Linked DNA regions of Homo sapiens: all the other regions are linked to region 1. The links are contacts of gene promoters, found by promoter capture Hi-C in blood cells and fetal thymus (Javierre and others, 2016). All regions are on one chromosome and are shown on one strand. The core of a region is centred on a gene start or on the middle of the fragment in contact, and the rest is flanking DNA. Distances in the headings are between cores, read along the strand shown. Region 1 holds the start of AP3M2 (adaptor related protein complex 3 subunit mu 2). Region 2 has its middle 17 kb from the start of CHRNB3. Region 3 holds the start of GINS4 (GINS complex subunit 4). Region 4 holds the start of GPAT4 (glycerol-3-phosphate acyltransferase 4).

Region 1 (2,988 bases), core at 325-2,824:
GATCCTTTCTCATTTTCAGGTTTCAAGGTAGAGGGTCTTCCCTGACTCTAGGTCAGCCATCTCTACAGCACTCCTCCCACCCCCTATGCGTTCCTTATTCATCACACTGCATTGCAATCCCTTGCTTCTCATTTGTCTTTCCTGCTGGGCCCTGTAACCACAGGGACAATGCCTGTGACAGCAGTCATTGCAGCATCTCCAGCATCCAGCACAGGTCGATACGTGGGGGTTTTCGGCAAATGTTAATTCAGTGAATGAATGAGAAATTCTCACGGCAGCGACTGCATTTCTGCACCTTCGACACACATTATCACGTGTTATTGTATCTTGTGCTGTTCCTTAGGGCATAACAATTGCTAGCATTTTCTAACTCAATCCTCACAACTCTAGGAGGGAGGTACTATTCACGTTCTTATTTGAGAAGTGAGGAACTTGAAGTTTAGAGGAGTTACAGTTCTTTCTCACGGTCACTCAGGTTGTAAGTGTTGGAGCGGGTTCAAGCCAAGTCCTCTGGCACCAGCGTCCCTAAGCCCACCCAGAGTCATACCATTCTGCCATTTTGTTTCTGGCTTTTCTTCATAGTTCAAAGTCAGCCAACTACCTGCCCTTAGCAAGCGTGGAGAGAACCCCCCGCACCACCTCAGCAAAGGGCTTGTGTGTGGAGGAGCTGCCACCCACGCTCCATTTCACCAAAGTGACAACTAATGCTAGGGAGGGCGAACCTCTCATCGGCGAGGTCGCCACTGTCACCAGCGCCCACTGCTGGGTCCAAGGCTGGCGACGCCTCACCGCATCTGGGCTTGACTTCCTGCGTCACTGGGGCGACCCCTGGTCCTGACTTCCACTCCACGCCTTCGTGGATCAGGACGACTGGGACCACTCAAAAGCGTATCCAAGTCCTGAGGTCTCCAAAGCGGTGGAGAGACCCGCCCAGCCCCTCACTCCCCGGCTGGGAACTGAGATTGTGGAGGGTGGGCGCCCTGCCGCGGCCCAGTGGGGCTGGGGGCTTCCAGAGTCGGGGTCCAGGGCTCGGTGTCCGAGACTCCACCGCCAGCCGCGCCGACCTGACCCACGGCCGGGTACAACAGAGAAGGCGGCGCTTCCCAAAGGCACCGATGGAGTGCAGGGTAGCCGCCGCCCTCAGGATTTATCAACCGCGAGGCGCTGTCAGCAACTCGTGCCCGGAAGCCACCCCGCCCCGGCACACACATACTCCAGCGCCCCCTCCAGGCGCACTCCGCAAACACGCGAGCGCGGCGACCGCCCCAGCCCTTTGTGACTGGATGAGTGGGGCCGAGCAGCACGCACTGTCTTCGACCTCCAATCAGGACTCGGGGTCTCGGAGCTGTACCAATCGGAGATGACCGTGGCCTCAACAGGGCCAATCGGGGGACTCGAGCCCGACAACAGGGCAAGCCGCCAACAGCGATCAATCAGAGGGGAGGAGCGGCTCCCAGATACCCAATCAGCGGCCTTCAGGCGCAGATCGTGGGCGGAGCGGTAGCCAGGCCGCGGGCCGGCCAATCAGCGGGCGAGCGGCTGCCTCAGCGCGCGCGGCGGGCGGGGCGGGGCCTGTCCGCGCCTAGGAGCAGTGGGCGCTGAGAGCAGCAAGGCCAGGTGAGGAGTAGGGACGACCCCGAGCCTGGAGAGGGGGCAGGAGTGGGGGCGCGCGAGGGTCGGGGCGGGGTCTCAGGATGCAGCCGGGCGGCCTCTCAGGGCTGCGGACGCGGCGGGGAGAGGTGAGGGGCCGGGTTCAGAGTTCGGGGAGGGCGTCCTTCCCGGCGCCGCGGCTGCGGGCGGAGGGGACACTGTTGCCATGGCAGCGCACGTGCGCTCGCTGGCGCGGCCCGGCACCCCTGCGCTCTTCACCCCGGAACGCGCGTGCCCCTTCAGCCAGGCCCCTGCCCGCCTGCGCCCCGCGGCCTCCGTCGCCGCCGGCTCTGGGCCGGGGCCTGCGCAGGGACCGCCTGCCTAGGCCGCTGCCTCTCCCTCGCACCCCGGGCTGCCTGGCTGTCTCTCCCTCCTGCTGTCTCCTCCAGGCGGCGCTGGGCACCGCAGGCCTCTGCGTTTTGACCACCCGCGCCGGTTCGCGGAATGGCCACATCCTGGCGACTGGCACCAGAGAGATGCAACCGTCTGAGGGCCTTGGGGTGTCTGTCCCCCAGGGAAATTTTTTTTTTTTTTTGGAGGTGGAGGGGGCGGGGTTCTCCCTCTGTTGCCCGGGCTGATCTCGAACTCGTGAGCTCCAGCGGTCTGCCCGCGGAGGCCTCCCTAAGTACTGGGATCACAGGCGGGAGCCCCAAGGGATCTTTTTAAATGTCTTACTGCATTAACAAGTGCCTAAGGAGTGCTCAGAGAATAGCTCTGATTGGATGAATAAAGACCCCCAAGGGCAGCTTTCCATTCCTCCCACCAATTCTGGTGGGCAGAAATAGAAAGCAAACCACATATGTAATTGTACATGTTCTGGTAACCACTTTAAAATAATAAAACAGGTTAAATTAATTTTAATATATTTGATTTAACCCAGGATATCCAAAATGTTATTACAACATATAATCAATATTAAATTATTGGTAAGATATTTGAAATTTTTTTTTTCATGCAAAGCCTTTCAGATTTGTCGTGTGTCTTACACTTAACAGCACACCTCAGTCCGCACCAGCCACCTTTCAAGTGCTCGCTGGTCCCATAGTGGCTATCGTATTAAGCTGCGCATTTCTTGTGTATGTGTGAGCTGTTGCCAAAACATGACATCAAATTCAGTGTTCTTGGAAGCCCTCTTCAAAGAACACTGATTGTGTTGCAGTCAGGCAACGCAAAACATGAGGCACGGCCCTTTTCTTCAAGGAGTTTGCGGTTCGGTTGAGAAAATAGACACCCACAGATAAGTAGTATTTTAAATGGATGCAATTTGGGCGATAGTAAAGATAACTGGGAGTATATGATTGACAGTCAGATGACTGATCATTATCGTTTCGAATTCAA
Region 2 (3,064 bases), core at 319-2,818, 530 kb after region 1:
ACAAAAGTTTTAAGAGATTTTCAATCCAGGTGCAGTGGTTTATGCCGGTAATCCCAGCACTTTGGGAGGCTGAGGCAGGAGGATCACTTGAGCTCAGGAGTTTGAGACCAGCCTGGCCAACAGAGTGAGACCCCCATCTCTATAAAAAAATGTAAAAATTAGCAGGTGTTGTGGTGCACACTTGTAGTCTCACCTACTAAGGAGACTGAGGTGGGAGGACTGCTTGAACCTGGGATGTCAAGGCTGTGGCGTGCTCAGCCCTGTCTGAAATAAAATAATAAAATTCTATGATTTACAGAACTGTGCTAAGGGGAGGCTCATGCACCTCACTAACTAGAAGCTTAATTTGTGCAGCTTATAGGCCCCTGCCAGGTTAGGGGTGTAATGACCAAACAAAAGAGGGCTGAAGTTTATGCTAGCAGCAAATGAACACTTAAAACACAAAAACAAAGAAAAAACTTTTATGTCAGAAAAAAACTTTAAGTCATAATTGCATCCAAACAACGTAATTGCACTCAAACAACAGCTATGTGGGGTTTTGTCTTTGTTTTTGTTTTTTGAGACAGAATCTCCCTCTGTCACTCTGGCTGGAGTGCCGTGGTGCAATCTTGGCTCACTGCCAACTCTGCCTCCTGGGTTCAAGCGATTTTCCTGCCTCAGCCTCCTGAGTAGCTGGGATTACAGGCATGCACACCATGCCAGGCTAATTTTTTGTATTTTCAGTAGAGATGGGGTTTCACCATGTTGACTAGGCCGGTCTTGAACTCTTGACCTCAAGTGATCCACCTGCCTCGGCCTCCCAAAGTGCTGGGATTACAGGTGTGAACTACCGTGCCCAGCCTCAAACAACAGCTATTTGGATAAGACAAAGTATTCCAATAGTCCTCAGCAGTCGCAAAAACAAAAACAAAAACCCAACACTTTGGATTCCCATATTATTATGCCTTATTGCTCCTTGACATCATTTGGATATTTGTCCCCACCCAGTTTTCATGCTGTGGGGCCTGCTGGGAGGTGATTGGATCATGGGGGTGGATTTCTCATGAATGGTTTAGCACCTTCCCCTTGGTGCTGTCCTTGCAATAGTGAGTGAGTTCCTGTGAGATCTGGTTGTTTAAAAGCGTGTGGCCCCGGCCGGGCGCGGTGGCTCACGCCTGTAATCCCAGCACTCTGGGAGGCTGAGGCAGGCAGATCACGAGGTCAGGAGTTCAAGACCAGCCTGGCTAACATTGTGAAACCCTGTCTCTACTAAAAATACAAAAATTAGCCGGGCATGGTGGCGCGAGCCTGTAATCCCAGTTACTTAGGAGGCTGAGGTAGACAACTGCTTGAATCCAAGAGGCAGAGGTTGCAGTGAGCCGAGATCATGCTGCTGCACTCCAGCCTGGGCAACAGAGTGAGACTCCGTCTCAAAAAAAATAAAAAGTGCGTGGCCTCTCCCCACTCGCTCTCTTGCCCCCCCTCTGCCATGTGGGATACCAGCTCCTGCTTCACCTCCTTCTTGGAGTAAAAGCCCCCTGAGGCCTTATAGGAAGCTGAACAGATGCTGGAGCCATGCTTGTACAACCCGCAGAACCCTGAGCAAATTAAACCTCTTTTCTCTATAAATCACCCAGTCTCGGGTATTTCTTTATAGCATCTCAACAGTGGCTTTACACATTCCTTCAACCAAGGTACATTTACTCTGTCATTTTGGAAAATGATGGGTGAGATTTCAGAAGCACCCAAGAACTCACCTAGAGGTCTACCCTTAAAACCTGATTGAGAATGTAGTTCATTCTGGTTCTTGGCTCAAGAAAGATCCTGGTAGTTTTAAGAAGGAAACAGCTTGCCACATGGGTAAGATGATTGTTCTATATGATGGAGGATTGGATAAGAGCAAACGAGGAAGGCACAGATATGTCAGCTGAATAAAAGAAGAAAAAGTGAAAAAGGAGAGTGCAGAAAAGCTGGAGGGTGAAAGAAATCTCCTCAAAGCATAGGTCAGGTTTCTGTTTACAAGTGCATTTTTCTCCTCTCCCCCACTCAGCTCCCATTAAAAGAGTTTTATTTATTTATTTATTATTTATTTATTTTTTTGAGATGGAGTTTCACTCTGTCGCCCAGGCTGCAGTGCAATGGGAATGGCACGATCTCGACTCACTGCAAGCTCTGCCTCCCAGGTTCAAGCGATTCTCCTGTCTCAGTCTCCTAAGTAGCTAGGATTACAGGCGCCTGCCACCACACCTGGCTAATTTTTGTATTTTTAGTAGAGACAGGGTTTCACCATGTTGGTCAGGCTGGTCTGGAACTCGACCTCAGGTGATCTGCCCGCCTCGGCCTCCCAAAGTGCTGGGATTACAGGCATGAGCCACCGCACCTGGCCAAGAGAGTTTTAAAAACTGCATTTGCACAAATTTCCTTAATCATACAGCTTAAAAGCCCCATGGCCTAGGAAGGCTACTGTCAAAATAATAATAATAATAATAATAATAATGTGTTGGTGAGGATGTGGAGAAACTGGAACTCTTGTGGGCCTCTGGTGGATATGTGAAATGGTGCGGCCGCTGTGGAAAACATTATGGTGGTTCCTGAAAACATTAAGAATAGAATTACTATGGGATATGGTCCAGCCGTTCCCCTTCTGAATATAGAAAATAATCAAAAGAGGTTTTATATGTCCATCGTCAGTCTGTTTTGTATTGCTATAAGGGAATGCTGAGACTGGGTAATTTATGAAAAAAAATGTATTTGGCTCACAGTTCTGTGGGCTGTACAGGAAGCACAGTGCCCCATCTGCTTCTGGGGCAGCTTCAGGAAGCTTCCAATCAGGGAGGAAAGGGAAGAAGGGGCAGCGTCTCTCATGGTGACAGAGGGAGCTAGGGAGAAGGAGGAGGTGCCAGCGCTTTTAAATTACCAGATTTTGTCTGAATTCACAGAGCGTGAACTCACTCATTACTGTGAGGACAGCACCAAGCCATTCACAAGGGACCTGCCTCCGTGTCCCAAATACCTCCCACCAAGCCCCACCTTCAACACTGGAGGTCACTTTTCAACATGAGATTTGGAGGGGACAGAACATCCA
Region 3 (3,062 bases), core at 86-2,585, 620 kb before region 1:
GTTTTTGTGCTTTTCCCCTCCAGAAGGTGAGTTGAAAGCATTGCCCCAAAGCAGTGATTCTCTTTTCTTTTTTCTTTTTTTTTCTTTTTTTTGAGATGGAGTCTGGCTCTGTCTCCCAGGCTGGAGTGCAGTGACGCCATCTTGGCTCACTGCAGGCTCCGCCTCCCGGGTTCACGCCATTCTCCCGCCTCAGCCTCCCGAGTAGCTGGGACTACAGGCGCCCGCCACCACGCCCGGCTAATTTTTTTGTATTTTTAGTAGAGACGGGGTTTCACCATGTTAGCCAGGATGGTCTCGATCTCCTGACCTCGTGATCCGCCCACCTCGGCCTCCCAAAGTGCTGGGATTACAGGCGTGAGCCACCGCGCCCGGCCCCAAAGCAGTGATTCTCAAACCTCAGCTGTGTCAGGGTCACCGGGAGGGCCTGGGTCTGGTGAAATACCCCCAGTTTCTGATTCGGTGGGCCAGGGTGGGGCCTGAGAACCTGCATTTTCACGGATTCCCAGGCGATGCTTCTGCTGGTCGTCCGATCCCAGGCTTCAAGAACCAGTACCCACTTTGTGAGGCCGAGGTGGGAGGATTGCTTGGATCCTTGAGTTCGAGACCAGCCTGGCCATCATAGGGAGAACCTCCCCACCCCCAACCCCGCCACAGTTCTTTTTTTTTTTTTTTTTAATTAAAAAATAACTGGGCGTGGTGGCGCTGGCCTGTGGTCCCAGCTACTCCGGAGGCTGAGGTGGGAGGATCGCTGGAGCCCGGGAGGCGGAGGTTGCAGTGAGCTGTGGTGGTGCCACTGCACTCCAGCCTGGGCACCAGAACGAGACCCTGTCTCAAGAAAGATGAAAAGGAATATACTGGAGATTCTGAAGGCAATGACCACACTGACCACAGGTGAAACCCCGCAAAGACGGAGGAACCCAAAGAGCCACGAGAGCTGTGGGTGGAGACGGCCCAGGAGGCTGCAGCGGCCTGCTTTCAACAGCATACTTCTGGGTGGGACCCCCCGGGGCGGACACCGCCGCTCCCCTTGGCCGCGGTGGCGGGCGCCCCCTCCCGACGCTCTTGGGTAGTGCAACCCGGACCGCACAGCGGAGCGGCCGGCCCCCAGGTGGGCGGGGCCAACCCGGACCAGCCTCCCGCCGCCTCAAGTCCTTGGGTTGCTGGGACTGCAGGCCGCCGCGAAGACAGTCCCCGCCCGCCGGGTGGGCGGGCCCAAGGAGACCGCCCCGCTCTTCCCCCCGGGCCTTGATTGGTCAGCGTCGCCCTTGCGCGATGACGTCGTGCCTGGGCGGAAACTTTGCGAGAGTAGCGCGGGAGCTGAGAAGTTGCAGGGTTGAGTTGGTCCCGGCAAGTCCTTGAGCAGTTTGTTCCTCTGTCTTCCCGCTTCCTGGTGCCCCGACTGCGTCCCCACGAACGCCCCGTCCTTACCGCCGGCTGCTGTGGAGTGCCTCGCTGTCTCCCAGGTCCCCGAGTGAGCGTCGAATGGGACCTCTGTGGCTAGGGCAGGCCTGTGTGGGTGGCACTGAGAGGGAGGAGGGGAGGGGGATGTTCGCAGTTTCCTTGCGACCCCAGGGACTTTCTTTGTCCCCGCCATCCACCTCCTTAGGCCTTTGGGATCGCCGACTGGTCTAATGTCGCCGGCCCTTGTGGCTCTGGGAAATTAGCATTGATTAATCTTCCTAACAATTTTTGTTTTTATAGAGACAGGATCTCCCTATGTTGCCCAGGCTGGTCTCGAACTCCTGGGCTCAAGGTATCTTCCTGCCTCGGCTTCCCAAAGTGCTGGGATTACAGGCGTGAGCCCGGCCAGCTCCTAATAATGTTAAGTGCTTGCTAGGAGTCAAGCGCTGTGCTGAGCGCAGGGGCTTCCCACGTCATTGCGTCCCCAGTGCTTAGTGCCAGGCACTGAGCAGAGGCGCGATTCGTATTTGAACTAAAACGAACCCCGTCCCTGAGGAACAAGACCTCTACTGGGAAGTCAAAGAAATGAATAGTGATTGTATGGTGTGATGGGTGCTCAGCTCTTGGTGGACAGAAGTAAGGGGGAGGCTTGTTTGAGAAACGGATACCTGACCTAAGCCTTGGAGGAAGAGGCAGACACTGGAAAACTAGAGTCCCTGCGTTCTCTCACCACTTGCTAAAGGGCCTCTACAACCCCAGGAAACCTCAATAAACCTTTCCTTTCTCCAGATAGATGTCTGTTCTTGCAGATAATTAGAAAACGCATTGCAGAGTATTGGTTCTTTCCCTCTCATTAGGTTCCTGGTTTCAGAGAAGATGACCGAAGAAGTGGATTTCCTGGGACAGGACTCTGATGGGGGTAGTGAGGAAGTGGTCCTAACTCCTGCAGAGCTCATTGAAAGATTGGAGCAGGTAAGCATCCCAGATCGAATCCCTTTGCTCCAGTCAGCCTTTTTATTTAGTTCAACTGTGAATATCAGGGATCACAAGATGAGGAAACGGAATTTGGGGCTTACTTTAGAACAGGGACTGGATCTTACCATCTACATGGAAACGGGAAGCAAGAAGGACATCCTCTGTTAGAGACCTCATCATATCAAACACAGCATCCCCAAGTGGGGTCAGTAAGGGACAGCTTTGGGCACATTCAGTGAACAGTTCACAGAGCAAGGATCCACGTGATATTTTCAGGGACTGTAGAGGTCCCTGAACTTCTTTACCTTAGTCCCTTGAACATCTGCTGTTTCCCTGGAGAATGCCTGTTTAGCAAGAAAATGCTGAAATGCCTGTAAGGGAAAACTGGTCATATTTTTCCTTTTTCTCACATGTTTTTTCTTGAGTCGTCTGCTCTCCATATGTCCACTGCTTATCTAAAATCCTTTCTGAAATATTTCTCCTTTAAGTTGTAATAGCTATGACTTACTGCATATTTCCCATGTGCCAGTAACTGTGTTCTTTACACTTATATCTCATGATGCTCTGGTAACAGGAGTTCAGACTATCTGGATTTAAATCTGTCTGTGACACTCCTCTGTTATGTGATCTTGAGCAAGTTAGGGAGTTTGTCTCAAGCCGTTGCTTGCCTATAAAATTGAGACAAT
Region 4 (3,045 bases), core at 365-2,864, 570 kb before region 1:
GTGGTTTCTTCTCTTATGGAATTTAATGTCGTTGACGATTAGACGTGGCCATGCATTACTCAATCTTGAATTGGGATCCCCAAAAAAGCTGGGCGAGTAACAAGGGCTCAATGAATGGATAAGTGATTGAGTTAATAAATACGTGATCAGTTCCAAATGGGTAACATTTAGTTATATTTGGTGGAGATAAGTAGTCCAGTGTTTTGGAGCTAAGTGGTTATTCTTTTTTTTTTTTTTTTTTTTGAGTTTGGGTCTCGCTCTGTCACACAGGCTGGAGTATAGTGCCACAATCTCAGTTCACTGCAACATCTGCCTCCTGGGTTCATGCAATTCTCCTGTCTCAGCCTCCCGAGTAGCTGGGATTACAGGTGCGTGCCATCACCCCCGGCTAAATTTTGTATTTTTAGTAGAGACGGGGTTTCACCATGTTGGCCAGGCTGGTCTCAAACTCCTGGCCTTAAGTGATCTGTCCGCCTCTGCCTCCCAAAGTGCTGGGATTACAGGCGTGAGCTACCCGCGCCCCGCTCCCCCCACCATTTTTTTTTAATTTTCAAAATTTTTGTAGAAGTGGGGGTCTCGTTACGTTGCCCCGGCTAGTCTCAAACTCCTGGCCTCAAGCGATCCTCCTGCTTTGGCCTCCCAAAACGCTGGGATTACTGGCGTGAACTACCATACTCTGCCCTTTATTCTTACAGAGATTTTGAGGTCTAAGAATGTGGACTTTAAAGATTTCATTATCAGATTATGCATTTAGCACGGAATGACAATCTGACAGCCGTGTACAGCGTAAACCGGCGGAGAGGGCTTGGCACTAAAGGCAAACTGTCTTTTAAGAACAGGAAAAAGAAAGGTAATATATATTTTAAGGAGGTCCCATTTTAGGGGAGATAATAAGCTTGGGTTAGGCGTCCGAAGTCAGAAGATATAGTAAGAAACACACACGCAAACTCCAGCAGCCACCAGCTAGACTTGAGTAGAGAGAGCAGGTCCAAGTGGAGGTGGAAGTTGGAAAGTTGCATCTGCCAGGCAGGGCGAAAGTGGCCTACACCCACTCCTGGAGCACCCTGCTTGACGAGCAAGGTAGACGAGGCTGAGGGATACTGCTGGTGATGACGGTGGTCGTGGTGATGGTGCTGGTAGCTAACAGATCTTGAGCGTACCAGGCCCTGAGCTGAGTCCTCTAACGGGCAGAATGTCGCTGCATACGGACAGCAGCCTCAAGAGGACAAGGTGATTTAGTGACTCTAGCCTCTTCCCGCGGTGCCAGCCTGATTTCACCCTCTCCGGAACACACAAGCGAACCTCCGGGGAGGGAGCCAGTATCGGGTCCTAACGCAGGGAAGCGCTCCGCTTTCTGAGAGGGACGCGCCAGCGGAGGGACAGCCAGGGCCCGGCCTCTCCTGCTCCTGCCCCGCCCCGCCCCCGGCAGTGCCCCCTAGTCCGCCAGAGGGCGACTCCGCGGGTCGCCCAACCCGCGACCGGTCCACGCGGCACCCGCCTCTCCCTAGGCCCCCGCCCTGCCGGCCCGCGCGCGCCCGACGGGAGCGTGCGGGGCGGTGGGCGCAGGGTCACGTTGGGCGGCGCAGACAAAGGCGGGCGCGCGCACGTCCTGACGCAGCTTGGGCCCGCGGCGGCGGCAAGGGCGGGAGGGAGCGGTCGCCGCGGGATTTGGAGCTGCCTAGCCTCGCGGTCGGTGAGTAGGAGGGAGCTGGCCCCTTACCTCAAAGTCTCCGACCTCCGGGGAGCCGAGAGCGGGACGTGGGAGCCGGGCTTGGGCGGCCGCGCGGGGCCTGCGGTCTGGGACGCCCCGGCGACGCTGCGCCGGCGTCAGGAGGCACCATCGCCGCGCCCCGGGGATCCCCGGCGGGTGGAGCGGGTGCCCCCCGTCCGGGATGGAACGGTCCGCGCCCGCCCCGAACCCCGGCCGCCCGCCTCTCCGCTCGCCTGCTCTCCGAGCCCGGCTCCTCGGAGCCCCTCGCCTCCCCCAAGTCCCAGGTGTGCGCAGCCCTCCCGCCCCGGGAGTCCGGGGATGTGGGTGGCGAGGGCTGCTGGGCGTTGGAGCACCAGGAAGCGCCTTCCCCTGTCATTCCCCTTCCTGTGTTCTCTGGCTGCCGTAAGATGCATGTCTTTACCCTCTCCTTCTCCAAATGCATGCTCCCATTTTTCTTTAGGATTTCTTAACTCCTGAAATCCCTTGCCTTTCCTTTTTTATTTCAGCACCCTCTGAGGCATCCTTCTCCCAGTGGGGCTTGTTTATTTCCTCGCTTTCCATGTCACAGAGGGCTGAAGTTTAGCTGTTCAGAAGTTGCAGAAAATAGCTTATAGGAGACATACGGTGTAGCACGATGGAAATAAGTTCCATCCTCTGCCAAGTATTACCATGGATCTTCTCATGGATAACCTTGAGGTCATTTGAGGAATTTTGTTTTTGGTTCATTTTCCTTAATTTTGGCTGAACTTTGAGGAGCTCTCCTTAGTTTCATGTCTTGTAGATTCTATCTCAATCCAAGGGAAATGGTGTGAAGAGCAGTTATACCATACCAAAGTCTCCAGACAAAATCCTGTAATAATGCCAATCAAATATACTTCTCTCTTTGAAAGAGATGTGCTTTTCTTTTCTTTTTTAACTTTGTATTTTGGAGAATTTCAGACACAGGGAAATAGATGGAATAGGGAACCAGCATGTACTTGTTCTGGCCTCCTCAGCCACTTAACTGTGGCTATTCCTGTGCCATACACACCCCACCCATTTCCCCTCCCGTATGTCTCAGGGAGAACTTGATGCAAGATGAGTCTGTCAAAAGTAGCTTCAGTTCCATAATGAAAACCACCATACCAAGTCATAAGGTGCTTTTTGTTTTGGAACACAGCCTACTCATGAGGTCTTCAGCTAAGAAACACAGTAGAGTTGAAGAAAGAGCACAGCAAAAGGTATCTTAACATGATAGAACAGGTTAAAAGAAAAAGTATGGCCGGGCGTGGTGACTCACGCCGGTAATCCCAGCACTTTGGGAGGCCGAGGCGGGCGGATCACCTAAAGTCAGG

The links. Contacts are between HindIII fragments. The CHiCAGO score rates a contact against its expected background, and 5 or more counts as called.
Region 2: a fragment that was not itself captured here is called in contact with the fragment with the promoter of AP3M2 in region 1 in 1 of 17 cell types (megakaryocytes); the score reaches 5.7 in megakaryocytes.
Region 3: the fragment with the promoter of GINS4 here is called in contact with the fragment with the promoter of AP3M2 in region 1 in 2 of 17 cell types (monocytes and neutrophils); the score reaches 5.7 in monocytes.
Region 4: a contact is called between the fragment with the promoter of GPAT4 here and the fragment with the promoter of AP3M2 in region 1, in 1 of 17 cell types (naive B cells). The highest score is 5.6, in naive B cells.

What each region holds. Positions count from the first base shown.
Region 1 is chr8:42,151,489-42,154,476 of GRCh38, forward strand. AP3M2 (adaptor related protein complex 3 subunit mu 2) reads left to right here and starts at 1,575. Exons shown (of 9, transcript NM_006803.4): 1 at 1,575-1,617. RefSeq lists an enhancer at 531-650 and a silencer at 1,481-2,090. The HindIII fragment of the contact is 5,843 bases long and covers 1-2,988 here.
Region 2 is chr8:42,678,997-42,682,060 of GRCh38, forward strand. No RefSeq gene overlaps it. Among named protein-coding and RNA genes, the nearest start is that of CHRNB3, 17 kb to the right of the region's middle. The HindIII fragment of the contact is 2,460 bases long and covers 339-2,798 here.
Region 3 is chr8:41,527,926-41,530,987 of GRCh38, forward strand. GINS4 (GINS complex subunit 4) reads left to right here and starts at 1,336. Exons shown (of 8, transcript NM_032336.3): 1 at 1,336-1,471; 2 at 2,259-2,373. The coding sequence starts at 2,278. RefSeq lists a silencer at 882-1,311. The HindIII fragment of the contact is 13,395 bases long and covers 1-3,062 here.
Region 4 is chr8:41,576,586-41,579,630 of GRCh38, forward strand. It overlaps GPAT4 (glycerol-3-phosphate acyltransferase 4), which reads left to right and starts at 1,615. Exons shown (of 13, transcript NM_178819.4): 1 at 1,615-1,693. GPAT4-AS1 (GPAT4 and GINS4 antisense RNA 1) reads right to left here and starts at 1,783. Exons shown (of 3, transcript NR_125824.1): 1 at 1,721-1,783. RefSeq lists silencers at 1,342-1,961, 1,982-2,121. The HindIII fragment of the contact is 4,489 bases long and covers 894-3,045 here.